Linked DNA regions of Homo sapiens: region 1 is linked to region 2. The links are contacts of gene promoters, found by promoter capture Hi-C in human tissues and cell types (Jung and others, 2019). All regions are on one chromosome and are shown on one strand. Each heading gives the region's core, a stretch centred on a gene start or on the middle of the fragment in contact. The rest is flanking DNA. Distances are from core to core; before and after follow the strand shown.

What was found. Contacts are between HindIII fragments. The study calls those that stand out against the background at their distance.
Region 1: a contact is called between a fragment that was not itself captured here and the fragment with the promoter of PRPF8 in region 2, in 1 of the 25 tissues and cell types used here (H1 embryonic stem cells).

What each region holds. Positions count from the first base shown.
Region 1 is chr17:1,620,832-1,627,546 of GRCh38, forward strand. All of the region lies in intron 2 of SLC43A2 (solute carrier family 43 member 2), which reads right to left. Among named protein-coding and RNA genes, the nearest start is that of SLC43A2, 4.6 kb to the right of the region's middle. RefSeq lists enhancers at 6,176-6,713, 6,714-6,715. The HindIII fragment of the contact is 4,391 bases long and covers 1,288-5,678 here.
Region 2 is chr17:1,682,628-1,688,965 of GRCh38, forward strand. PRPF8 (pre-mRNA processing factor 8) reads right to left here and starts at 2,240. Exons shown (of 43, transcript NM_006445.4): 1 at 2,153-2,240; 2 at 1,845-1,955; 3 at 906-1,074. The coding sequence starts at 1,944. The HindIII fragment of the contact is 7,907 bases long and covers 1-3,464 here.

The DNA of each region.
Region 1 (6,715 bases), core at 2,233-4,732, 61 kb before region 2:
TCAGGAGAGAGACAAACAGATTAAGCACCCAGGAAGTGCCAAGGCGTGGGGTGGCCCTCTGCTCCCAGCCTGGAGCTTGACCCCGGGCCAGCCTGCTCTGCTCACCCCCGGCCAGGCTGCTCTGCTCCTCACCTGCACCTGTTTATTAAACAGATGCCTCCTCTGGGGTGGCCAGAAGTGGCCCAGCCCAGCCTGGCCAGAGAAGGTGAACTGAGAAGACAGGCAAGAGTTGGTGTGGCCAGTGAGTGCCAAGAACAGGAACAGGGCTGCTTAGGAGGAGACCCAGGGCCAGGGAGGACGTACACCGTTCAGCCCCACTCACAGAAGACGCACAAGATCTTTACAGAGGAATCAGGGAGAAAAGAGGGTGCTGTGGCCCCCCAGGCTCCCCTGAGGCAAAGAGGAGCCTCCCCACACCCCGGGGAGACAAAGGGAGGGGGGCCTCCAAGATGATGCTTGAGGGGGCCAAGAAGTACCTGGCTTGAGGTCCCCTCTAAATTCCTGAGCTGCCCCCTTCCCTGACTAGTCGCTTTCCGAGCCCCCCCTCCAGGGTGCGGGCCCCTGGACAGCCCACCGATGGCCCCTGCCCAGGATCTCCCGTCTCTCAAATCCTTAGTCTATCCGGCAACAGGAAGCAGCATCTCAGTCCTCAGTCCGGCAGGGGAGATGTAGGTGAGAGGTCGGCTCAGACACAGAGCAAACAACAGGCAGGAGGGCACGGACAGGCAGAGGCCGTCCTGGGCTGACCAGGGCCTGGCCCCTGAGCAGTGGTCCCAGCAGCGGCTGCCGTGTGTGCAATGAAAGTGTGTGCCAGCTGCCATGCTCAACGGGTGTGCCCACGCCCACCCCATATTCCCCACGAGGATACTGTCAGAGTGTCCCCGAGGGATGCTCAGAGCAGGTAAGTCACTTGCAGAAGGTCTCATGGGGGTCCCTGGGGAAGCTGGGCTTGACTCCAGGCTGTCAGACCCCAAAGCTCCCGCTCTTACCACTCGGTCTGTGCCGATGCTGGCCTACCTGGGCTAGAGGCTCATATCCCAGAGAGAAAATGCTGAGAGAACAGAGCCGGGAAAAGGCTGCCCATGTGCCGGCAACACCAGGAGGCCCTGAATATCGCTTGGTGGGAATGGGACTAAGACTCTCCCACGAGGTCCCTGAGAGCCAGCCTAAGCTGGACAGGACCTTCATGGACACCAGAAGCCAGGGGTGGCCAGTGGATGTCTGTGAGGGAAATGAGGTCACGAACCAAGAAGGAGGGAGGCTGGGGCGGTGGGAAGAGCCAAGGCCACCAGCTCTTCTCTGAGACGCATCCTGAGGCTGCCGGCCCCAGCCTTTAAACCTTCTTACCCATTGCTATGGAATTTTTAAAATTCCAAATAAACTGGGGGAAAAGTTTAAAAGTCATATTTATAGCAATAAAAGTGAAAGGCTGGATTTAAGAAAGCTATCCGGCTGGGCGCGGTGGCTCACGCCTGTAATCCCAGCATTGTGGGAGGCCGAGGCGGGTGGATCACGAGGTCAGGAGATCAAGACCATCGTGGCTAACACGGTGAAACCCCGTCTCTACTAAAAATACAAAAAAATTTAGCCAGGCGTGGTGGCGGGCGCCTGCAGTCCCAGCTACTGGGGAGGCTGAGGCAGGAGAATGGCGTGAACCCGGGAGGCGGAGGTTGCGGTGAGCCGAGATCGCGCCACTGCACTCCAGCCTGGGCGACAGAGCAAGACTCTGTCTCAAAAAAAAAAAAACTATCCACACTTGCCTGTGGGTGTGAGGAGAGACTCTAAAAAGAGAGGCCCTTGAGCTGGGCGCAGTGGCTCACGCCTGTAATCCCAGCACTTTGGGAGGCCAAGGCTGGTAGATCACCTGAGGTCAGGAGTTTGAGACCAGCCTGGCCAACATGGTGAAACCCTGTCTCTACTAAAAATACAAAAATTAGCCGGGTGTGGTGGTGGGCACCTGTAATCCCAGCTATTTGGGAGGCTGAGGCAGGAGAATCACTTTAACCCGGGAGATGGAGTTTGCGGTGAGCTGAGATCATGCCATTGTACTCCAGCCTGGGCGACAGAGTGAAACTCCATCTCAAAAAAATAAAATAAAATAAAATACAAATACAAATACAAAAAATTAGCCGGGTATGGTGGCAGGCGCCTGTAATCCCAGCTACTTGGGAGGCTGAGGCAGGAAAATCGCTTTAACCCGAGAGGCAGAGGTTACAGTGAGCCGAGACTGCGCCACTGCACTCCAGCCTGGGCGACAAGAGTGAAACTCCGTTCCCTCCTCCCCATCCCCCAAGAAAAGAGGTCCTCGAGGCAGCAGAGAAATCTCCTGTCCACATCTGCAGCTTCACTCAGCCCGTGGGGATCAAGCCTGGGCCTGCTTCCCCAAGGTGGGCGGCAGCCCCTCTGCCCTTGCAGCGATCTCTGTGCCAGGGCGAGCTCGCAGGGACCTCTGTGCCAGGGTGAGAGGCTCTCTCCCACCACCACAGGTGGAGAAACTGCAGAGGTCAAGAGCATACAACTGGGGTCGGCCTTCATGCCCATGGTCAGACTGTGGGTGACTTCCTCAGGCAGAGGCCGTGATGACTTCTGGTTTCTATGCCACCCAAACATACCAGCATGTGGCAAGCCCTCAGCAATTCACACAAGCCTCTAACAGGGGAATTGGATGGTCGCCCTCCTCTATCTCCCTGGCTTCCTCCTGTCTTGGGAATAAAATTCAGTTTCCCCGAATGGCCTCCCAGTCCCTGCAGCCCCCGCCCCTTCCCACTTCTCTCCTCTCCTCCAGGGTGTACCCTCCTCTCCTCCAGGCTGTACCCTCCTCTCCTCCAGGGCGTACCCTCCTCTCCTCCAGGGCGTATCCTCCTCTCCTCCAGGCTGTACCCTCCTCTCCTCCAGGCTGTACCCTCCTCTCCTCCAGGCTGTACCCTCCTCTCCTCCAGGCTGTACCCTCCTCTCCTCCAGGCTGTACCCTCCTCTCCTCCAGGGTGTACCCTCCTCTCCTCCAGGCTGTACCCTCCTCTCCTCCAGGGTGTACCCTCCTCTCCTCCAGGGTGTACCCTCCTCTCCTGAATCACCCCTCCTCAACCTCCAGGCTTCCACCTGAACCGCAGAGAGGCCCTCCCACCCAGCAGGAGCCACATCTCCGCTGCTGTTCTAGCTCCTGGCGCCCTGCTTTCTTGGGGGCCCGACCACCCCCTGGAATTATACGGGTTACACAGGTATGCGTGTGATGACTTGTTTCCTCTGCACCCAGCACGGCACCTTCGTCAATGTTTACTGAATGTTTAGGTTACAAGAAAGAGGGGATTAACGATCCACATGTAGGCCTGGAGCGGTGGCTCACGCCTATAATCCCAGCAATGTGGGAGCCCGAGGTGGGTGGATCGACTGAGCCCAGGAGTTCAAGACCAGCCTGGGCAACATGGTGAAACCCCTATCTCTACAAAACATTTAAAAATTAACTGGGTATGGTGGCTTACACCTGTAGTCCCAGCACTTTGGGAGGCTGAGGCTGGTGGATCACTTGAGCCCAGGAGTTTTGAGACCAGCCTGAGCAACGTGATGAAACCCTCATCTCTACAAAAAATTTGACCGGGCGTGGTGGCTCACACCTGTAATCCCAGTGCTTTGGGAGGCCAAGGCGGGTGGATCACCTGAGGTCAGGAGTTCGAGACCAGCCAGGCCAACATGGTAAAACCACATCTCTACTAAAAAATACAAAAATTAGCCGGGCGTGGTGGTGGGCACCTGTAATCCCAAAAACAAAAACAAAAAACTAACTGGGTTTGATGGCTCATGCTTGCAGGCCCAGCACTTTGGAAGGCTGAGGCAGGAGGATCGCTTGAGCCCAGGAGTTTGAGACCAGCCTAGGCAACATGGCGAGACCCTGTCTCTACAAAAAATACAAAAATTAGCTGAGTATGGTGGCGCACACTTGTAGTCCCAGCTACTGCTACTCGGGAGGCTGAGGCGGGAGGATTGCTTGAGCCCAGGAGTCAAGGCCGCAGTGAGCTGTGATTGCAACACTACATTCCAGACTGGGCAACAGAGCGAGACCCTGTCTCAAATAAAAAAAAACCATCCACAGGTAGCCGCAGCCCCCCAGGCTGACCCTGACCCTGTTGAAGCGGGGGCCACTGGACAACAGAGAAAACGAAGAAAGAGCTCAGGAGTGGGCCGTCACGTTGCCATCCCAGAGGCCAAGAGGACACAGCTCCAGGAAGCCCCGTGCTTCTCGGGCTGAGAACCCAACTGGTCTCCTGCCCTCACCAGGGGGACGAGGGAGGCATCCAGCAGCCAACACCTGGAGGACGTTGTGCAAAACCCATTGCCAACTTCCCGCACCCAGGTCCCCAAACCCAGCCTGCCACGTCTCCCAGCAGGCAAGGAAGAACAAACTGCGGGGCAGCCGAGAAATGAGCTGTTTCCTTCCTTCTGCCACCTCACCAGGCTGGAACCCAACACGGTGTCTGTGGCGAGATTCTGGCTGGAGTCGTAAGAAAGAGTTCTAAGAACCTTTCAACAGGTTCAGGCAAATTTTCTTTAGAGAACAAACTAAAGCATCGTCCTAGAGTGACACGAAGCTGACAAATTTGCATCTCAATCAGCCGGACACTGCTCAGGCTTTCACAAGTCTAATTCAATAAATTCAAAAATGGCCTATCTGCTTCTCTGCAATTCAGCCATGCACCAAGTTTGAAAATGTTAGACTGAAGCAGAAACCTTCACCCTAACTTCGCCAGGCACTCCCAGACGAGCCAAATGCGGGGATTTCTGGCCTGAAAGAAAACTGGTGATGCAGACTCCAAGAATCAAGGAGCAGTGTGACCAGAGAGATAAGCTGTGTGGAATCAGCAGCCTTCCCGCCCAGAACGTGGGCTCAGCATGTTTGCCAGATAATAAGAAAAACCAAAATTGGAGGCAGGAGCAAAAGTTCGGGATAAGAAGTTGATGTTCAACCCACAATCCTGACCCTTCACCTTCACTTTGGTTTAGTGGAGTTACCTGTCAAGTCTGCCCAGGGCTTAAAACACCAACTCAGCACTGCGCTGGCACAATCTCTGGGACTCCTCCCACTTAGACAGAGGAGGAAGCTGAGGTTGAGGCAGGAATGAAAGGACCAGACCCAATTCTGCCAAAACCATACAATCAATTAAATCCGTGGACATTCTATTAAAAAAAAACAAAAAACAAAAAACAAACAAAAAACACCTAGAATCTGACCTTCCGACATCATGGTGGGTTAAAAAAAAAACACACAAAAAAACACCTGCCCACAACAGTTCTCTGGTCTGGGTGAGACACTAAAAGCTTTCTCTGGGGACGATGACTTTTTTTCTGCTTTTTTTTTTTTTTTTTAAACCCTGTGTCCAGCCTGAAAGAGCCCACCAGGGAGGCAAGCAGGAAGGGTCACGATCTCTAAGGGGGGAGAGAGGAAAGGAGAGGAAGAAGTAAACACTCCAACCTGTGCCTTTCGGGGACAGGCATTAATCTCCTAACAACTCTTGGCCAAAGCAGAAAGCTTGTTCAGGGAACAAGGTCTGACTCTTCCCAACTCCCAAGATTTCTTGCTGATGTGGGGAAAGACCTGCCAAGAACCCTTAGGCTATTAGGAAATATTTTTGAGTGGCTAAAGGCTAAAGGTTAGTTATAAATGATATACTTTCTGTCCTCTCCCCGCGGCCTCTGCATTCTCCTGCTTTCTCCTGCCCTGAACCTCTCCAGCTAAGCCTCCCTCCCTAGAGACTGGGACACACAGGAATCTCCGGGGCAGATCAGAGAAGGGAAACAGGGAGGCTTCCACAAAGGATTACACCCAGCATGAGCTGGTCCAAAGCTTTCTCTTCCTGCAAAGAGCTCTAGAAAGAAAAGGCCTGCTGCTGGGGATTCAGGAAGTCAAACCTGGGCTACCTCCATCTAAGGGCACTCTAGCACTGGCGACAGGGATTATGTGAGCTCAGCTATTATGCAGCTACCGTTGGGATCAAGGAGAAGGCAGAGGGAAAATTTCCTGTCAAGGTTGCCTAAGAAGGAGGGTAGGAGGCTAGAGGCTGGGGGCTGCTGTGGCCCTCCTGTGGGGCTGAATTTACTGCCCTGTAGTCATCAGGACCCTCCAACAGGGTATGAAGGTGTGAAGGTAAGTGTGTGTTGGGTGGTGCAGATGTCATGTAGAGAAGCATCCTCAGCCTGCCTTCAGCAATTCCAGTGACAAGGCAAAGAGGAGAGAACAACCCTAGCATCATTTCCATAAACGTTCCTTTCTTCTCTTCCCCTTCATCCCCATGGGGTTGGAAAGCCACGGAGATGTCCTCAGAGCCCGTGGGGGAAATGTCCTTTGGAGAATCATAAGGCAGCAAAAATAGACAAGAAATTGTGTCCAGCAAGCACTTAGGAGACTCCACAATGGCCTGAGGAACGTCTAGATTCTAGATGAGCCCTCCCTGGGGTGGAGGCAAGGCCACTTCCTCTCCTGCTGCACCCCAGCCCCTTAATCTGGAGTTCCTCTTTCTCACAAGCAGACAGCAACATGTTTACTACCAGCCAAGCTATGTTCCAGGGCTGGGAGGAGAGGAGAGCAGTCCAGCACTGTTCGTAGCGGGTGGAAGGAACACCCTGGACAGCAGGTGGGGTTCTGGGTGGATGGCAGGCCCAGGCTCTGCGGCCTTGCGCAAGACAGATCGCTCTGAGCCTCGATGTCTTCGTCCACAAAACAGGG
Region 2 (6,338 bases), core at 990-3,489:
TCACCAGTTGTCTCATGTCTGTCAGGCCACTAGACCGCACACTGCAGAAAGGCGGAGATTGTTACCCTCTGCTCGCTACTATATCCCCAGCAGCCAGCACAGTTCTCTAAGTATTTTTTGAAATAAACAAAACTTCCAGTTCATTACATGGCAAACATTTTTGTGTCCAAATAGAACAGGAATCTGCTAAGACATCTGTACCTGTACTAGCCCAGTTTAGAGCCACAGAAAAAACAGGAGTAGGGAAACCTCTGAAATTAAATACCCCAAACACAGAATTCAGGTCCCTGAGGAGCGACAGGCTGCCACTATGCACAGTATCCCACTCTGGACTTCAACCAGCTCAACCATAGGGACATCTTATTTTTCATTTTTTTTTTTTTTTTGAGACGGAGTCTCGTACTTTCGCCCAGGCCAGAGTGCAGTGGTGTGATCTCGGCTCACTACAAGTTCCGCCTCCCAGGTTCACGCCATTCTCCTGCCTCAGCCTCCCAAGTAGCTGGGACTACAGACACCTGCCACCACGCCCAGCTAATTTTGTGTATTTTTAGTAGAGACGGGGTTTCACCGTGTTAGCCAGGATGGTCTCGATCTCCTGACCTCATGATCCACCCGCCTCGGCCTCCCAAAGTGCTGGGATTACAGGCATGAGCCACCGCGCCTGGCCAGGGACATCTTATAATATCATCAACAGGACAAATTAAAGCACCAGTCCCAGATCGGGAAGAGAGGGGAAACAGACTGCAAAAGTGGAAGATGTAGAAATTATCAGAGACTCCTACTGGTTTTCTCCTTTCTCTTATATCCACCAAGATGAGCTGTCAAAGCATCAATCCAAGACTGTGGGACAGGGAGAAGGGAAAAGGGCCAAATTCCAAATGAAATTATTTCAGGATGTTCCTTACCCCAAGTAAACCCTTTTGTCATGGCGGAACTTCCTGTTGGTCATGTCTCCATGGTCTCGAATGATCTTCCTGACATGTTCTGGGGGCATGTCTTCCTTCTGGGCATCCACAAACCCAAACTTCCGCTTTTCTGCATAGCGCTTGGCCTGCAATTGCTGCCATTTTCGAGCTGGAAAGGCACCTCAGTTTAAAGGCCTGCACACCCTCCCCCTAATCCTCTTCACCTCTTGCCCTAGGGTAAGCTCCTGTCAGTGAGTGTGAGGGAGAAGCAGGCACCAGCAGGAAGAAGCACCCCTTGCCAATTCCCTTACCATTTTACTCTGTTTTTCCTTTCATCACATTGATCACTATCTGACTTTTTTTTTTTTTTTTGAGAGGTTGTTTCACTCTGTCTCCCAGGCTGGAGTGCAATGGTGCGATGTCGGCTCACTGCAACCTCCGCCTCCTGGGTTCAAGCCATTCTCCTGCCTCAGCCTCCCCAGTAGCTGGGATTATAGACACGCGCCACCACACACGACTCATTTTTGTATTTTTCGTAGAGACGAGGTTTCACTGTGTTGGCCAGGCTGGTCTCGAACTCCTGACCTCAGGTGATCCGCCCGCCTGGGCCTCCCAAAGTGCTGGGATTACAACCGTGAGCCACCGCGCCCGGCCTGACATTTTTATTACAGAGCTTCAAGGTTTTGTTATTCTCTGTCTCTCCCGCTGTAATTTAAACCCCGTAAGGACAGGAATTTTGTCTCCGTCACTACTGTACCCCCGCTGGATCAGCGCTTGCAAATAATACGCGCTTAAAATGACTTGATGAAAAATTAACTGGAAATAACAAGGGAGCTGACACCTCAGGAGCTGCCCAAACGGGGAGGGTCCCCACCCGCCTGCGCGCGCGCACACCCGCCCCGCCTCCGGCCCGCGCGCCGCTCCACACTCTCGCCTCACCTTTCTCCTGCAGCTTCTCCTCCGACATGTAGTCCGGTAGCGGGGCTAGAGGGCCAGGCACCGGGTTACCCGGCCCTCGATAAGGAAACACTCCGGCCATATCCGGAGAATCTGGGGAGCGGCGGGATAGAAAAATTCACTAACCACAGGCCCGGGCCCACAAGAAGCGCAGCAGAAAGGCGTCCGGGGACCCCGGCCTGCAGTCCCGCCACACAGTGCATCCAGCCCCGCCCGGCCTAACCCCTTCGGTCACTCGGCCCGACCCGACCACGCCTCCCGCAGCCCGGCCTTAAACGCCTGCCACGCACCCCACAGGCCCTCACACAAGAGGCCGCTTTCCCCGCAGCGCAATGGCGGCCAGACTGCGTCCGCTCCGCGTTCCCAGCGCCGGGAAGTGCGCAACCCGAGTTCAGCAGTTGATCCAGTCGGCGCCGAGGTGCTCAGATGGATTAGTGAGACGACCAATTAGAGTTGCACACTGCGCCGAGGAGGCGGGCCCATAGGCGGAAAGGCTTTGAACGCAAGGGGGTGTGGTCGGGGTGAAGCCCCGCCTCCTCCATTTCCGAGGCTGTTTCTGGGGCCTCTGACAGACCTCAGCGTGTGATGGGCTCCCGGCGTCGCACTGTGAGAGAGCGAAGTCTAAAGGGTTTGAATAAATTTGCCAAGATTGCGCATTGTACGATGTCTGTTGTCATCAATGTGTACATGCAATGCAGTACTAGCTCCTGGACAGTCATTTGTTCATGCATTCATTCATTTAACCATCACTGTCTACCGAGGACGAGGGATAAAGCAGGAAAAAAGACAACCAGTAGAGTTCACAGGGGAGCAGAAAGGCAGGCAAGAATTAAGACCTTGGCCGGGCGCGGTGGCTCACGCCTGGAATCGCAGCACTTTGGGAGGCCGAGGCAGGCGGATCACTTAAAGCCAGAAGTTCGAGGCCAGCCTGGCCAACATGGTGAAACCCCGTCTCTACTAAAAATACAAACATTAGCCGGGCGTGGTGGCGGGCGCCTGTAGTCCCAGCTACTCGGGAGGCTGAGGCAGGAGAATCGCTTGACCCGGGAGGGGGAGGTTGCAGTGAGCCAAGATCGCGCCACTGCACTCCAGCCTGGGTGACAGAGCGAGACTCTGTCTCGGGGGAAAAAAAAAAGTCTGAAATTCTGTGGAGGGTGCAGAGGAATTGTAACCCATACAGCCCCTGAATCTAGTTGAGAATTTACAAATCAAAGTGAAATAATTAGAAAAAAATTCAAAGGATGTCAATGTGCTTTCAGAACGGTAAAAATTTAAAAAATATTCCTTTTGTTTTTTTGAGACAGGGTCTCACTCTGTTGCCCAGACTGGAGTGCAATGGCGCGATCTCAATTCATCACAACCTCCACCTCCCAGGATCAAGCAATTCTCCTGCCTCAGTCTCCAGAGTAGCTGGATTACAGGCACGCGCCACTACTGCCGGCTAAGTTTTGGATTTTTAGTAGAGACAGGGTTTCACTATGTTGGCCAGGCTGGTCTCAAACTCCTGACCTTACGAAATCCTCCTGCCTCGGCCCTCCCAAAGTGCTGGGATTACAGGCGTGAGCCCCCATGCCCGGCCTGAAATCTATTTTTTAATGCTGGGTGTTCTAAAGGTCCCTACAGTCAAAAAAGACAGAGGAGAATTGTTAAAGATTTGATGGAGATGGATGGATGTGAGGATTTCATAAAGGTAAATGGAGAGGAAGGAAAAAGGTAATCCCAAGTGGTAGAACTACTAGAAAGAGTTAAGAAAGAAGCCGGGCACCGTGACTCATACCTGTAATCCTAGCACGTTGGGAGGCAGCGGCGAGAGGATTGGTTAAACTCATGAGTTTAAGACTAGCCTGGGCAACATACTGAGACCCTCATCTCTACAAATAATAAAAATATTAACCAGGCATAGTGGTACATGCCTGTAGTCCCAGCTACTCGGGAGGCTGAGGTGGGAGGATCATGATGGCACCACTGCACTCCAGCCTGGGTGACAGAGCGAGGCTGGTTTCATAGAAAAAAAGTGGGGGTTTTGGTTTGTTTTTTGTTTTTTGAGGCAGAGTCTCACTCTGTTGCCAGGCTGGAGTGCAGTGTCACAATCTCGGCTCACTGCAACCTCTGCCTCCAGGATTCAAGCGATTCTCCTGCCTCAGCCTCCTGAGTAGCTGGGGTTACAGGCATGTGCCACCACACCCGGCTAATTTTGTATTTTTCGTAGAGATGGCGTTTCTCCATGTTTGTCAGGCTGGTCTCGAACTACTGAGCTCAAGTAATCTGCCTACCTCAGCCTCGCAAATTGCTGGGATTTCAGGCGTGAGCCACCGTGCCAGGCCAAAAAAGGTTTAGATATAGAAACTAACATGGCATGCTCTGAAAATAGGCACCATATCAATCTGGCTGTGCTAGAAAGTCCAACATCATCATTATCATCTTCATCATCATCATCGTCATGGTAGTGAAGTCCTTTCACCTGTGTAAGGTTCACTACGTGCCAGACATTGCTCTAAGCCCTGGTGAAATCCTACTATGGTCTGTAGTTTCATTAAGAGTATTGTGGCCGGGCGCGGTGGTTCACGCCTGTAATCCCAGCACTTTGGGAGGCCGAGGCTGGCGGATCACAAGGTCAGGAGATCGAGACCATCCTGGCTAACACGGTGAAACCCTGTCTCTACTAAAAATACAAAAAAATTAGCCGGGCATGGTGGCACGCACCTGTGCTTCGAGCTACTTGAGAGGCTAAGGAAGGAGAATCGCTTGAACCCAGGAGGTAGAGGTTGTAGTGAGCTGAGATAGTCACTGCACTCCAGCCTGGGCAAAAGAGCAAGACTCCGTCTCAAAAAAGAAAAAAAGAGTATTGTACCAATGTCAATTTCCTGGTTTGATTGTCGCTCTATGGTTGTATAAGAAGTTCTGGGGGGTGGCCGGGCGCGGTGGTTCACGCCTGTAATCCCAGCACTTTGGGAGGCTGAGGAGGGTGGATCACGAGGTCAGGAGATCGAGACCATCCTGGCTAACACGGTGAAACCCCATCTCTACTAAAAATACAAAAAAATTAGCCGGGCATGGTGGCAGGCGCCTGTAGTCCCAGCTACTCGGGAGGCTGAGGCAGGAGAATGGTGTGAACCCGGTAGGCAGAGGTTGCAGTAAGCCAAGATCGGGCCACTGCACTCCAGCCTGGGTGACAGAGCAAGACTCCGTCTCCAAAAAAAAAAAAAAAAACAAGTTCTGGGGGGTGGGCAGGGGGCAGGTGTGGTGGCTCACGCCTGTAATCCCAGCACTTTGGGAGGCTGAGGCAGGTGGATCATTTGAGGTCAGGAATTCGAGACCAGCCTAGCCAACATGGTGAAAACCTGTCTCTACTAAAATACAAAAATTAGTGGGGCATGGTGGCACATGCCTGTAATCCTAGTTACTTGGGAGGCTGAGGCATAAGAATCGCTTGCACCCGGAGGTGGAGGTTGTAGTGAGCTGAGATCATGCTATTGCACTCCAGCTTGGGTGACCGAGTGAGACTCTCGCTCAAAAATAAAATAAAATAAAAAGTTCTCAAGCTACGTGAAGGGTACACAAGAACTCTCTGTACTATTTTCAAAACAGCATTATTGAGATAAAAGTTGCACTCCATGGCCACCATGCTGGCTCATGCCTGTAATCCCAGCACATTGGGAAGTCGAGGCGGGCGGATCACCTGAGGTCAGGAGTTCGAGACCAGACGAAGCAACATGGTGAAACTCTGTCTCTACTAAAAATACAAAAATTGGCGGGGCATGGTGGTGCATGCCTGTAATCCCAGCTACTTGGGAGGCTGAGATGTAAGAATCGCTTGCATCTGGAGGCAGAGGTTGCAGTGAGCTGAGATCGCGCCATTGCACTCCAGCCTGGGCAACAAGAGCGAAACTCTGCCTCAAAAAAAAAAAAAAAAAAATCGCAATCCATAAAGTTCGCTTGTTTTCATGTGTATAATTCAATGATTGTTAATGAATTTTAGTTTTAATGATTCAAAATTAGTATATTTACAGACTTGTGCAGTTACCACTATTGAGTTCCAGAACATTCCCAGCACCCCCCAAAGAAATCTTTTTTATTTATTTATTTATTTATTTATTTATTTTTTATTGATAATTCTTGGGTGTTTCTCACAGAGGGGGACTTGGCAGGGTCATAGGACAACAGTGGAGGGAAGGTCAGCAGATAAACAAGTGAACAAAGGTCTCTGGTTTTCCTAGGCAGAGGACCCTGCGGCCTTCCGCAGCGTCTGTGTCCCTGGGTACCTGAGATTAGGGAGTGGTGATGACTCTTAACGAGCATGCTGCCTTCAAGCATCTGTTTAACAAAGCACATCTTGCACCGCCCTTAATCCATTCAACCCTGAGTGGACACAGCACACGTTTCAGAGAGCACAGGGTTGGAGGTAAGGTCACAGATCAACAGGATCCCAAGGCAGAAGAATTTTTCTTAGTACAGAACAAAATGAAAAGTCTCCCA